Linked DNA regions of Homo sapiens: region 2 is linked to region 1. The links are contacts of gene promoters, found by promoter capture Hi-C in blood cells and fetal thymus (Javierre and others, 2016). All regions are on one chromosome and are shown on one strand. Each heading gives the region's core, a stretch centred on a gene start or on the middle of the fragment in contact. The rest is flanking DNA. Distances are from core to core; before and after follow the strand shown.

The links. Contacts are between HindIII fragments. The CHiCAGO score rates a contact against its expected background, and 5 or more counts as called.
Region 2: a contact is called between a fragment that was not itself captured here and the fragment with the promoter of ZXDB in region 1, in 1 of 17 cell types (total B cells). The highest score is 7.0, in total B cells.

The regions. Positions count from the first base shown.
Region 1 is chrX:57,589,536-57,596,768 of GRCh38, forward strand. It overlaps ZXDB (zinc finger X-linked duplicated B), which reads left to right and starts at 2,476. Exons shown (of 1, transcript NM_007157.4): 1 at 2,476-7,233. The coding sequence starts at 2,514. The coding sequence ends at 4,925. RefSeq lists silencers at 2,814-3,103, 3,164-3,353. The HindIII fragment of the contact is 4,972 bases long and covers 1,326-6,297 here.
Region 2 is chrX:55,710,343-55,717,575 of GRCh38, forward strand. No RefSeq gene overlaps it. Among named protein-coding and RNA genes, the nearest start is that of RRAGB, 3.8 kb to the right of the region's middle. The HindIII fragment of the contact is 1,189 bases long and covers 3,933-5,121 here.

The sequences.
Region 1 (7,233 bases), core at 1,226-3,725:
ACGCTTTCATGGCCCAGGGTTTCTTAAAACAGAAAAGATTTCTTAAAACAGATTTCTTAAAACAAAAACACACTAACCATCAGGAAAAGAATGATGAATTTGACTATATTATAATTAAGATCTTCTGTTCACAAAACACAGCACAAAGCAATGGGAAATACAAACAGAACAAGGGAATATTTTGGCCACAGGTATGGACTAGTATTTAAAATATTTAACAGGCTCATTAAGTCAGTAAGTACTAGATGAACAATAGAATAGAAACATGGGTTAAAAGAGGTAAATTTGAATAGGCCTTCTTCGGAGTAGACACTCCAAAAGGCTCATAAACACGAAAATGTGCTAAAGCTTACTAGTAATTTGGGTATTGCCCACCAGTAGACTGGCAAAATTTAAATTCTGGCAATACTTGGTGTGGGTGAAGATGTGGAGCAGTAGGGGCTCTCTGTGCTGCTGGTGGGATTGACAGCTTGCCCAATCACTACAGAGAACAATTTGGCATCATCTAGTAAAGCTCAGGATATCCATACCCTATGGCCCTGTGATTCTATTCTTGGATATATACCCTAGAGAGATTTTTACACATGTGTCCCATGAGAAATGTGCAAGAATGTTCATAATAATCGCTGAAAAATAGAAGCAATCCTAATGTTCATCTGCTGTAGAATGGAGTGGTATAATCATACCATAATCACTTTGCTATAAGCATATGCTGGAACGACAGTCGATGGAGACAAAGGATCTACTTACTTATAACTATTATGAACAACATGGATGAGTCTCAAGTATAATACAGAGTGAAAGAAACAAGTTATAAAAGGAAACTTGCCGTATGATTCCATTTATACAACTTCGTATCAACTCTATTGTTTACGGATGCGTACAAAAGTGATAAAGCTATAAAGGAAAGCAGTGAAATGATTATTACAAAGTCAGGGCAATGACTATATTCATATAGGAGAGTGTGGGTTGTGATTGGGAGGAGTACAGCGGCTGTATTCTGGAAGGCTGGCAGTGGTCTATTGCTTGACCTTGGTCCTGGTTACACAGGTGTCTGCTTTTGTAAAATAATCTAAACGATACAAATATGTTTTATGCACTCTTCTATACCTCAGATTTGAAAAATGCTTCCACCAGAAAAAGTAATAGAAAGAAAAGTATGTGGAGTAGACATTTTGATGAGGTTCAAATAGTTATGGATGAATAGCTTGATTTTCAAGAGACCAAGTGTCCACTGTCATTAAAAGAGGGCGAGAGAGCTGGGAGTATTTAAACAACAGGTTACACCCCGCTCCCCCACCACCACCAATCTAGTCATTACTCTAAGCTTTCTTATCTCAGATATTTCACCCTATATTTGTGTCAATTCCCAACTCAGTCGTAACGGACAAAATGAAGGATTGTCATCATCATTAATAAGATCATTAGGCACCACAGGCCCAGCAAGCCTGGGCCACCACACTTAAATGTGAACAGGTACACCAGGTTGATTGGACAAGATCGTCTGTGCCTTTTACTTGGCAGAATCCATTGCAGTGACTCAGGATTTAACCTAAACACATTTAACTGAAACTCCTGCCCAGAGACCTCCACGTGCTGGAGAAGGCAGAGTAAACTGAGGAATGAATGCCCTCATTGTGCTGTGAGAGCAGACATGAAATTTATCACAGTACAACCGATGGTGGAAGGGCAAAAGTTGGTTTAGGTTGTGCACTGTATAGGGAGAAGCCAGGAGAAGGTTGGGTTTTTTCCAGATTTCAGTGTAAATTGTTTCATCCTCCAGACTTTGAATTTCTAGGCTGAAGAGTGCTAACCTGTTTTGGCCGCATCTCTCACTCATTCTAATGTCTGTATCAGCAAGACAAAATTTGAACTATGCGGCAAATTGTACCGAAGACTTTGCTCAAGATAATTGTGAATATGGAAGTTGTCCCGCGGGGAGGTGGGAAGGGGAAGGACATTTTCAGCAGAACTGCCAGCGCTATGGTGGTTTAATGCTGACACAGAGACAGTTTTTTCTCTCAGGAATTGTCTTTCATCCATCAGTCCAGCCAGCCAGCCAGCCAGCAAATTTTAACACACAGAAAGTACGAAGCAACATATCTAACACTGGGAGGGGCTGGGGTGTGTTTATTTGGGTATATACAATGAGTCATGGATTAAAATTGCTTCCAGCGGATAGATACCTAGGTGTTCCACAGCATTACTGAACAAGCTGTCGTCATTTCCCCATTACCTCAGAAGACCCCCTTAATTACTTACTTATATTAACTGTAGAACGTATTTATGCATACCAGGCTCTACCTCTGGGCTTTCTATTCTGTTCCAGAGACCCAGTACCAGAATATTTAAATCACTGTGGCGTTAAATACGTTTTAATATCTGATAGGGCCAGTTTCTGCGCATTGCACATTTTTTTTTCCCCTTTCAGGAACGTGTTCAGGCCCGCGGCAGGGGGCGGGATCGCGCCTCCTCCTCGGCTCTGGTTCCAGCCGAGCCTCTCGGACGCAGAGATGGAAATCCCGAAGCTGCTCCCGGCTCGCGGGACACTACAGGGCGGCGGCGGCGGCGGTATCCCCGCGGGTGGCGGCCGAGTCCACCGAGGCCCTGACTCGCCGGCTGGCCAGGTCCCCACGCGCCGCCTCCTGCTGCTCCGGGGCCCCCAAGATGGCGGGCCCGGGCGGCGGCGCGAGGAGGCCAGCACGGCATCACGGGGCCCTGGCCCAAGCCTGTTGGCGCCGAGGACCGATCAACCTAGCGGCGGCGGCGGCGGCGGCGGCGACGACTTCTTCCTGGTGCTGCTTGACCCGGTGGGTGGCGACGTGGAGACCGCGGGCTCCGGTCAGGCCGCAGGGCCTGTGTTGAGGGAGGAGGCCGAGGAGGGCCCGGGGCTCCAGGGGGGCGAGAGCGGCGCGAATCCCGCGGGGCCCACTGCGCTAGGCCCCCGCTGCCTGTCCGCGGTTCCCACTCCGGCCCCGATCTCCGCCCCCGGCCCCGCCGCGGCCTTCGCGGGCACAGTCACTATCCACAACCAGGACCTGCTGTTGCGCTTTGAGAACGGCGTCCTCACCCTGGCCACGCCCCCACCACACGCCTGGGAGCCAGGGGCCGCTCCTGCCCAGCAGCCCGGGTGTCTGATCGCCCCGCAAGCTGGGTTCCCGCATGCCGCGCACCCGGGTGACTGCCCAGAGCTGCCGCCAGACCTCCTGCTAGCTGAGCCGGCCGAACCCGCGCCAGCTCCGGCGCCTGAGGAGGAGGCGGAGGGCCCGGCCGCCGCCCTGGGCCCCCGCGGACCGCTGGGCTCCGGCCCAGGCGTGGTGCTGTACTTGTGCCCCGAGGCGCAGTGCGGGCAAACCTTCGCCAAGAAGCACCAGCTGAAGGTGCACCTGCTGACGCACAGCAGCAGCCAGGGCCAGAGGCCCTTCAAATGCCCCCTGGGTGGCTGCGGCTGGACCTTCACCACCTCTTACAAGCTCAAGAGGCACCTGCAGTCGCACGACAAACTGCGGCCCTTTGGCTGCCCGGCAGAGGGCTGTGGCAAGAGCTTCACCACAGTGTACAACCTCAAGGCGCACATGAAGGGCCATGAGCAGGAGAACTCATTCAAATGCGAGGTGTGCGAGGAGAGCTTCCCCACGCAGGCCAAACTCAGCGCCCACCAGCGCAGCCACTTCGAACCGGAGAGGCCTTACCAGTGCGCGTTTTCTGGCTGCAAGAAGACATTTATCACAGTGAGTGCTCTGTTTTCCCATAACCGCGCCCATTTCAGGGAACAGGAACTGTTTTCCTGCTCTTTTCCTGGCTGCAGCAAACAATATGACAAGGCTTGTAGGCTGAAAATTCACCTGCGGAGTCACACCGGCGAGAGACCTTTCCTTTGTGACTTTGATGGCTGTGGCTGGAACTTCACTAGCATGTCCAAACTCTTAAGGCACAAAAGAAAGCACGACGATGACCGGAGGTTCATGTGCCCTGTGGAAGGCTGTGGGAAATCTTTCACGAGGGCGGAACATCTGAAAGGCCACAGCATAACCCACCTGGGCACAAAGCCTTTCGTGTGTCCTGTGGCAGGCTGCTGTGCCAGGTTCTCTGCTCGCAGTAGCCTCTACATTCACTCCAAGAAACACCTGCAGGATGTGGACACTTGGAAAAGCCGTTGCCCGATCTCCTCTTGTAATAAACTCTTCACATCCAAGCACAGCATGAAGACGCACATGGTTAAAAGGCATAAGGTGGGCCAGGATCTCTTAGCTCAGCTAGAAGCAGCAAATTCTCTCACACCCAGCAGTGAACTTACCAGCCAGAGACAGAATGATCTCAGTGATGCAGAGATAGTGTCTCTCTTCTCTGATGTACCTGACAGTACTTCTGCTGCATTGCTGGACACAGCATTGGTGAACTCTGGAATCTTGACTATTGATGTGGCTTCTGTGAGCTCGACTCTGGCAGGGCACCTCCCTGCTAATAATAATAATTCCGTAGGGCAGGCTGTGGACCCTCCGTCCTTGATGGCCACCAGCGACCCTCCTCAAAGTCTGGATACCTCTCTCTTTTTTGGAACGGCGGCCACTGGTTTTCAGCAGAGCTCCTTAAATATGGATGAGGTCTCAAGTGTAAGTGTGGGGCCATTGGGATCTCTGGACTCTTTGGCCATGAAAAACTCCAGTCCAGAGCCTCAGGCTTTGACACCCAGCAGTAAGCTAACAGTGGACACAGATGCTCTGACTCCTTCGAGCACCCTTTGTGAAAACAGTGTCTCAGAACTACTGACACCAACCAAAGCGGAGTGGAACGTACATCCTGACTCTGACTTCTTTGGACAGGAGGGAGAAACCCAGTTTGGATTCCCCAATGCAGCAGGAAACCATGGTTCTCAGAAAGAAACAGATCTTATCACTGTGACTGGCAGCTCATTTTTGGTATGAACCAACTCTATTCATTCCTCATCATGTGGCTTACTTTTATTACAGTCAATTTTGAGGATATTCTGGACTAAATATTTAAGTGCAGTCATTTCTTTTTGGTTTGCAAAAAGAGCACAGCCCTGGACTACAAGTTTGGAGATTTAAATTCTGATCTTGAGTTTGGAACTGACAAGTTGTGTGACCCTGAGCAAGTCAGTTAACCTATCTGAGCCTTAATTTCCTTATTTATAAATTGAGGTGGTTTGAATAGATTGCTTTTAAGGTCTTTCTGCTCTGTGATTCCTTGATAATACATTTCTTTCCTTGAAAAATATGAGGACGTTTTTCAGTGATGTGGCATGCGTTTTTTTTTAACTGCCCCCCCAGCCCTGACATGTTCTTTTTTTGGCAAACATACATAATGTTACATCATACTATGATGAACATCCATGTACTTTTCACTCAATTTCAGCAATTATGAATCCATGAACAATCTTTTTTAACTTAGCCTCACTCACTCCCCATGTTCTAGTATTATTTTGTAACAAATAGCAGACATCTGATCATTTTATCCATAAATATTCTTTATATATCTCTGAAAGCTATGGGATGATATGGAAAAAAATGATAATTCCATTATCGCAAGTGATATTTACAGTAATTCTTTAATATCAGTAAATATCCAGTGAGGGTTCAAACTTCCAATTGCCTCATAAATGCTACTTGTTTTATTATTTTTAATTAGTAGAATCCCGTAAATCTCCTAAGTGTCTTCTTAATCCGTATGTTTCCCTTTCATCTTTCTTTTTTTCCTTGCGATTTTGTTTATGAAATGAGGTTGTTTCACATGTAGCATTTGCCACAATTTAAGTTTTGCTAATTGCATCCCTATGGTAATGTTTGCTTTCCTCTATCCTCTGTTTCTTTAATTTGCTAGTTATGTCTAGAGACTTGATGAGATTGAAACATGGCTTTTGGCATGAATGTTTCATAGGTTATGTTGTGTTCATTTAGTAGGTGGCGCATAATCTGTGGTTTTCTCTCTTTTTGTGGTATTAGCAGCTGCTGCAGATAAATGCATTAATTCATGATGCTTCTGATATGATGAGTCATCTTTGTAGAGTTACTAAGCATTAGCAAAGGAGGAAATGCTATGTAATAGAAATATTATTCAATGCCAAAATATTTTCTTAAATAGTCATAGAACTAACAAGAAAAAATAGATAGCAAAAAAATGTGTTGGCTGTTCTCACTGTTTATCTTCCTAACTTCTTTTGATGATGGAAGGCAGTTTTGTGGAAATTGCCAGCCAGGACTTTGACATGAAACAGACCCAGGGCTAAATTTTGGCTCTGTGGTGTTGGATAAGTGGCCTTGAATAAATTAGTTATTAAGCTTCAGTTTTCTAGCTTTTAACTGATTATAACAATGCACACACATACCTGACACACTGTTAAATTTTCTTCTCTTCCTGTTTCTTATGTTAAGGAAAGATACTCTGTGTTTTGGCATATGTTGGTGAATTTGTACCATTTTTATCCTCTCAGTCCTTCCTTTTATAAGACAATAATTGGAGTAGTTTAATCTTATTCATGTGCAGATAAAAGAGGTTTATGAAGTTTAGGGTGAAGTAGGCAAGGGAATCTGTTTACTCCCTCTTCCCTCTACTGAATAATTTTCCCTCTACTGAATAATTTTCCCTCTAAGAATTGCTGTGGGTAATACCAGGAGTGGGGACATTGCCCACATGCATAAGAGCGTATCTCTCCATTCGATCAGTTTGTCACCATCTTTGCTCTGTTTTGAAAGTCAGGCTTCTCTGTGACTGTGAAGCCTGCTGTTCCCTGAAAATCTGATAATGGAGCAGTGGAGGTTTTTTTCTTTCTGTGCTCTGTAGATCTCATTGTTTGCACTTGTAATTTCCCAGAGTTGAAAGGAAAGATTGAACTGGAATATTGTGTAAACTATCTGTCTTACATTAGTGTAGCATTTTGCAATTTGGGGAACATCTTCACAATTTGTGTCTCGTTGTTCAGAACAACCCTGTGAAGTAGTTTTGGCAATGTCTGTGTTACATTTCATGTAATTTAGCCAACTCCCATTCCAACTAGGCTTTGGCTAAATCTGACAATTTTATATATAGCTTAAAACAAAGAATATACATTCTTTTCACCCCTCCCAGTCTACCCATCCAGCCTTCATGATTCATTCCTGTGTCAAGGTTAGTCGCTGTTTTCCATTTGAATTGGTTTCTTTTATGGTCAGTTTACTTTCTTCCCTCTCCCCTCCCTTTCCTGCACATCCCCATCCTTGCTATGCCTTTCTGTCC
Region 2 (7,233 bases), core at 3,277-5,776, 1.9 Mb before region 1:
AAGGCATTACACTTTTACTTTTCTGACAAAATATTTAATTTAAGCTCTTATTATTATTAAACCAATTAATTAATGCTCTTTTATATTACACACACATAACACATATAATTATACAGACAGACAGAAGATAAAGGACTCATTCTGCAAGCCAGGAATTAAAACCTGAACCTGGGCTACTATTGTAAAAAGAGAAAGCATGGCCACGTGGTTATAATGTCAAGCTTCCAAGGACATAAAAGGCAAGAGGGAAACCTCATCCAGTTTTTTTTCAGGGAACTGCAGCAAAGTTTGTAACCAGTTTTCTGGGCCATCTTGAATAGTGGGCTCTGGGGTCCTAGGGCCATGTTCCATCCTAAGGTACTCCTCTTTTATGACAGAACAATACAGAAAGACATACAAAGAATGCCAGATTTGCTACAGCTTAAGACTAGCCTCACAAATCCTCATAAATCCTTTTTATCCATTAATCAAACATTACACAGGAAATAAACAGTTATTTTTACCATTCTTTCAACTGGTTTGCACGGGGGAGCGGGGGGAGAGAGAGAGAGACCAGAAGTCTGACTCATAAGAAATTCTTGCTCTTTTGCCAGCATGCCAGGCTTCTGGGTTTCCTTTCCCTGATTCAACCTAGTGACCCGGCTTCCTGCACCATAGCCCTGGGGGCCAAGCTGCAACACTAAGGAAAATTATCATTTTCTGTTCTGGCCAGAGCAAAATACATATGACAAAACATAGACATTAGCCACTGTGCAATATCAAACTGGCAAGGCCCAAACTTGCCCCTGGTTGGGCCCCATTATCATTAATCCAACCTCTGACCAGGAGTTTCAACTTGTGGTCTCTGGGCAAGATGGTCACCCTGAGTAATAGAAAAGATAGGAAAGAGAAGGGAGAGAAAGAAAAGCATTGCCTGTGGCAGGGTGGGGAAGGTGAAGAACTCAGGGAGGTAAAGCAAAAGACCCACCCCCTGCAGCCACACTGAATCAAAAGTTCAGATGGGCGCTTTTCAGTTGTGAAGGCATATTTTCCAGCAGTCCCATCAGCTCTCAACTTTCTCGTTTTTGGGGAGAAAAAAGCCCCCCATATCCCACTATCCTGTACATGCCTAATCCTGTCACCCACAGCAAAGGGTGCAAGGCAGATTATTCCAAAGATAATAGCAGTTAACATCCTGTAGTGCCAAACTCATTCTTAGCCAAAAGGGAATTTACTGAGAGGAGCCTCTAACCCCCTAAGTCTTAGAAGGGAACCTAATTTTCCTAAGTTGGGCCTCTAACCCAAGGTTGGTCAAGTGTCCTTGCCTTTTATTAAGAGGGGCCTCTAACCCACTCTGTCTTATGAGAGACTTTAACTCCTCTAAATTGGGCCTCTAACCCAATCGCGTCCTTTACCTGGGTACCCCACCACTTACCCAAAATGGGACAATCAGTGCTGCAGTTTATTTCCTTTTGGTCGGGTTGTTTCTTCAGTATTGTCCCTTCGAGGTTTGTCAAAAAGATGTTACTAGACCCCACCACTTACCCAAAGTTAGTCTTTGGGTTAGGTGTTTCTGCAGTATAGTCCCTTTGGTGGTTGTAAGAAAAAATTCAGGACAAGTCCATAAAGTGAAAGCAAGATATTAGGAAAGTAAAGTAATAAAAGAACGGCTACTCCATAGACAGAGCAGTCCCAAGGGGCACTGGTTGCCCATTTTTATGGTTATTTCTTGATGATATGCTAAACAAGGGGTGGATTATTCATGCATCCCCTGTTTAGACCTTATAGAGTAACTTCCTGACATTGCCATGCCATTTGTAAACTGTCATGGTGCTGGTTGGTGTAGCAGTGAGGGCAACCAGAGGTCACTCTCGTCACCATCTTTGTTTTGGTGAGTTTTAACCGGCTTCTTTAATGCCACCTGTTTTATCAGCAAGGTCTTTATGACCTGTATCTTGTGCTGACCTTGTATCTCATCCTGTAACTTAGAATGCCTTAATTGTCTGGGAATGCAGCCCAGCAGGTCTCAGCCTTATTCTACCCAGCCCCTACTAAAGATGGAGTTGCTCTGGTTCAAATACCTCTGACAGTTCAGGTTTTTCTACCTAGGTAATGGCTCCCATGGAGGCTTCTGCTCATGGAATTTTGGTCTGGAAACTTGTCATTATCTGTATTTGCCTCTCTCCCCAATTCTGGCAGCAGCTGTGTGTCCTGTGGCCTCACTTCTCTAAAGGAATTAAGACTAATTGTTGATTTTTCAGTTTGTTCAGTTTTTTACTTATTGTTAACATGGAGTGGTGACTTTTAAGCTCCTTATATGTAGGATTGGAAACTGAAAGTCCCCACATTAAGTTTTCATCAATCAAGTCGTTAAATCTTGTTAAATAGAACATTTTGTGATATTTTAAGCCATGATGTGGGAATGGGGAGAAAAGAGCTGCTAGCAGTATGTAGGAGTAAACTTAAGGAGCTCTGGGAAGTAGCAGTGAGCTATGGAAAAAGAGGAAGAAGGGAAAGGTGGAGGAGGAGAAGGGCAGGCAACTTATGAGTGACAGTTTGAGTATTGGAGACTCAGGAGTATGTTTGCAGATACAGGTAACTAGATTGAATTTAGGGCATAAAATGAAACTTATTAAAGGATTTGTTGGGGGCCTGTATTACTTTTTCTTGCTGAGATGGATGGTTAAAAAAATATATGTGTTGGGATCTAGACAAAGGGAATGCTGATGTTTGTGTGAGTATAGTGGAGCTGAGGTGTTAAGACAGAAGCATCTGACAGGCAGTGGAACCTGAAATAGAGTGATGTTTGTATCCCTGCTGTCCAACACAGTTCCTGGCACCGAAAGGCTGCTCAATAAACATTTGTTGAATGAATGTGTGAGTAATAGAGCTTAGTTCACACTTTCTGAAAAGAACCTATAATTAAATGTTTAAAAATTAATTCAACAAAAATAAAAAGTGACCTCCGCTTCCTATGTATGTAAGGGTTTTTTTTTTTTTAAGAATAAAAATGTGAAAAATAAGCAGCCAAAGGTACCTGGGTAGAAACCAGAATCTGAACTGCTGGACTATATAGTGTCAACAAAGAGTCAAACTCTGGAAAACATTTGATGAGATTTATTCTGAGCCAAATAGGAGTGACCATGGCCTGTGATACAGTCCTCAGGAGATCCTGAAAACAAGTGCCCAAGGTGGCTGCGGTGCAGCTTGGTTTTATACATTTTAGGGAGACAAGGGACTTCAGTCAAATACATGTAAGAAATATATGGGTTTGGCCCAGAAAGGTGGGACAACTCGGAGTGGGGGTGGGAGGGGGGCTTCCAGCTTATAGGTAGATTGAAAAAATTTCTGGTTGACAATTGGTTGAGTTTAAAGACCTAGGATCAATAGAAAGGAATGTTTGGGTTAAGATAAGAGGTTGTGGAGACTAAAGTTTAATCATGCAGGAAGCCTGCAGGTTCAGAAAGAATAGAATGTAAATGCTTCTTATCAGATTTAAAGGTCTGTGTTGATGTTAAAGCTGGAGAAATATAATGAGGCATGTTTGACCCCTACTTCCTGTCATGGCCAGAAAGTCACTCAGGATACATTTTTAAAGAGTGCCCTGGCCGAGGAGAAAGCACATTCAAATGGTTGAGGAACCTTGGTATTTTATTTTTGATTTACAATAGGAATGCACTGCACATTGGCCCTATTCACCATTATTTGGAATCTATGCTTATTTGATTTAGTTTCTCAATCCTTTTCCACTACCTTTCTTCCATTCCCTTCCTTCTACCCCTCTTCCTCCTTTTTCCTCTTCTCCTTACCCCTCTATTCCTTCCCTCTTTCCCATCTCCCCACTTCTCCCCCTTTTCTTCTTCATCCCTCCCCTCCCCTTCTTTATCTGTTTCTTCCTCTTCTTACTTCTTGCCTCTTGGCACTTTGAGGCAACTATCAGCAGTTCCTTATGAAGCTTGTGAGGTAGTGAATGTGGGTAGAGAAATATAGCTCGTGAGTTGCTATAGGCCAGATCTTGAAGGTCCTTGTATTGACACACTTTTTCCTTAAGTTATGGGAGGATTTTAAAGTAGAGAAGTAGTCTCCTCCGATTTGTGGTTTAAAAGATTACTCAAGTTGAGGTTGCAGTGAGCCATGATTGTGCCACTGTACTCCAGCTTGGGTCAGAGAGCAAAACCCTGTCTCAAAAACAACAAGAACAACAACAACTACAACGACGATAAAAAGAAATTTGATCGCACCTGTAATCCCAGCACCTTGGGAGGCCAAGGTGGGCAGATCCCTTGAGGCCAGGAGTTTGAGTCTGGCAACAAAGTGAGACCCAGTCTCAACAAAAACTAGTTAATTAATTAATTAAAATAAAGGATCACTTGAGCAGCTTTTAGAGAGGATGGATGGTTTGAAGGAGGGGGAAAAGGATACCAGCAGCAACAGGGAGACAGTATTTTTTTTTTGCTTGCTTTGTCGCCCAGGTTGGAGTGCAGTGGTGCGATCTTGGCTCACTGCAACCTCCGCCTCCTGAGTTCAAGCAATTCTCCTGCCTCAGCCTCCCGAGTAGCTGGGATTATAGGCGCGTGCCACCACACCTGGCTAATTTTTGTAGTTTTAGTACAGATGAGGTTTCACTATGTTGGCCAGGCTGGTATCGAACTCCTGACCTCAGGTGATTCGCCCACTTTGGCCTCCCAAAGTGCTGGGATTACAGGTGTAAGCCACTGCACCTGGCCGAGACAGTACATTTTTATAAAAGAGTGGTTTAAGGGGCCAATTTGGCTGGTGAAGCCCGGGGGCAGTAGGTGTTGGAAGACATATTTGAAAGCTGCCTTTAGAAAGCAAGCACATATTAATTACGTCAAATGTTTTGGGGGATGAGATGACTAATGAAGATCAACTCACTCACTCCCAACCCCTTTGGAGCTGCCACTGTGGGAAAATCACTTAGTAGGCTATTGTGGATATCTAGGCCAGAGATTATGATAGCTGGAACAAAAAGAGTGGCAGTAAGAATAAGAGCAGGCAGGTAGTAGAAAATAGACTGATCATGACCTGGTCTCATTGACACGTATGGAGGGCAGTGAATCTAAGGTGACTTCCTGGTTTGGGACTCAGGATCTTTCATCAGACAAGGAAAGCCAGAATGGAAGCTTGTTTGGGGGTAGTTGGTTGGAAGGAGACAAAAGATTAGCTAGTGATAGAGCGAAGGATCACTAATCAGAGTAGAATAACTTTTTTCTTGAGGCAAGGCAGTTGTGGAGAAAAGGAATCACACAGGACCTCAAGTGGAAAGTGTGGGAGCAGACAGTGTAACTGCCCAACGGGTTCACCTTGCCTGCTGCCTAGACAGAGCTGATTTATCAAGACAGGGGAATTGCAATGGAGAAAGAGTAATTCATGCAGAGCCAGCTGTGGGTGAGACTGCAGTTTTATTACTCAAATCAGTTTCGGGGGATTGAAATTTTTAACAATAATTTGGTGGGTAGGGGCTTGGGAAGTGGGGAGTGTTGACTGGTCAAGTTGGATATGGAATCATAGGGGGCTCTAAGTGAGTTTTTCTTGCTATCTTCTGTTCCTGGGTGGGATCGCAGAACTGGCTGGGCCAGATTACTGGTCTGGGTGCTGTAAGTGAAACGAGGGAAGTTCCCCTATCCCCCTTGCAGGGCATGCCACAGCGGGAGTGGCTCACTGCTTCACAACCTCTAGGGGGAGCATGCAGAGGGGCAGGCTGTGGGGCTCCGACCCCATGGCAACCTCTAGGGGTGAATATAACATTTGGGTGGGAAGGCAGGAGTGCCTATCCTCACCTAGGTCCATGGGCACAGGCCCCAGGGTGGAGCCCTAGCCACGGACCCGCCTTTCTCTGCCCAGCACTTTCCTGCCCCGCTCCTGTATCATAAGCTGGTGCATCTGAATGCAGGGTCTGCAAAACATATCAAACAGTGATCTTAGGTTTTAAAACAGTGATGTTATTCCTGGGAGCAATTTGGGGAGGTTCAGACTCTTGCAGCTGGAGGCTGCATGGCCCCTGAATTGTAATTTCTAATCTTGTAATCTTGTGGCTAATTTGTTAGTCCTGCAAAGGCCGACTGGTTCCCAGGTAAGAAGGTTTTTTTGTTTTTTTGTTTTTTTTTAGTGGGGGGCAGCGGGAGGGAGAAAGGGCTATTATCAATTTTGTATCAGAGTTAAACTATAAACTAAATTCCTTCCCAAGGTTAGTTCGGCCTACGCCCAGGAATGAACAAGGACACCTTAAAGGTTAGATGTAAGATGGAGTCGGTGAGGTCTGATCTCTTTCACTGTCATAATTTCCTCAGTTACAGTTTTTGCAAAGGCAGTTTCAATAATAGTACTCTGTTTCCTGCAGTTTCTCTTCCTTCCTTCCCTTTTTTTCTTATCAAAGTAATATATGTACACACTTACGTGTAAATAATACATGTAGTATATCATATATTAATTATAAATAATATAATTAAACTACACATTTATTTAAAATAACATATTTATAACATATTATTTAAGTATTAGTTGATTATATTAAATATAATTAAATGTCATATTAATCTTATTATTATATATCATTTATACATTATAGAAATATATATAGCACAGAAGGGCTTCAGATAAAAAATAATAGTCCCCTGACATATCACGTCCTATCCCCTACCCCATTCTCCAGAAGGAACATCTTTGAACCCCTCTGGGCATTTTTCCTGGTGTGCATATCCCTACCAGTAGTCTTTCTGTTCTCAATTCTAGACTTCACTTATTTACAGATGGGGTCTCGCTATGTTGGCCAGGTTGGTCTTGAACTCCTGGCCTCAAGTGATCCTCCCTCCCCAGCCTCCCAAAGTGCTGGGATTAAAGGCATGACCCACCACTCCCAGCCCTAGACTTTATTTATTGACTTCTTACTATGGTACTTCCTTCACTTCCTGTTTTAAACAAGTGGGAAGATGAATGTGTGTGTTAAAATTCCTGATGAATCCCTGGTTTCAGCAATAACGATAATTTATACAGTATTTGCTATGTGGAAGACACAGTTCTAAGCGCTTTGGATGTATTAATCATTTAATTACAAACTCGATTGCAAGAATTAACAATAAAAAGCAGGAAGGCAAAGACAATGCTCGGTCTTCCCAGTCAAAAACCATTACCGGTAACCAGCAGTAAAAAAGAGAAGCTCAGAGGCACTGAAATTGCAACCGGCTCCTTTAATTCTCCATAGCGGATGGGTGGGGCCAGGCCCACCCACATTAG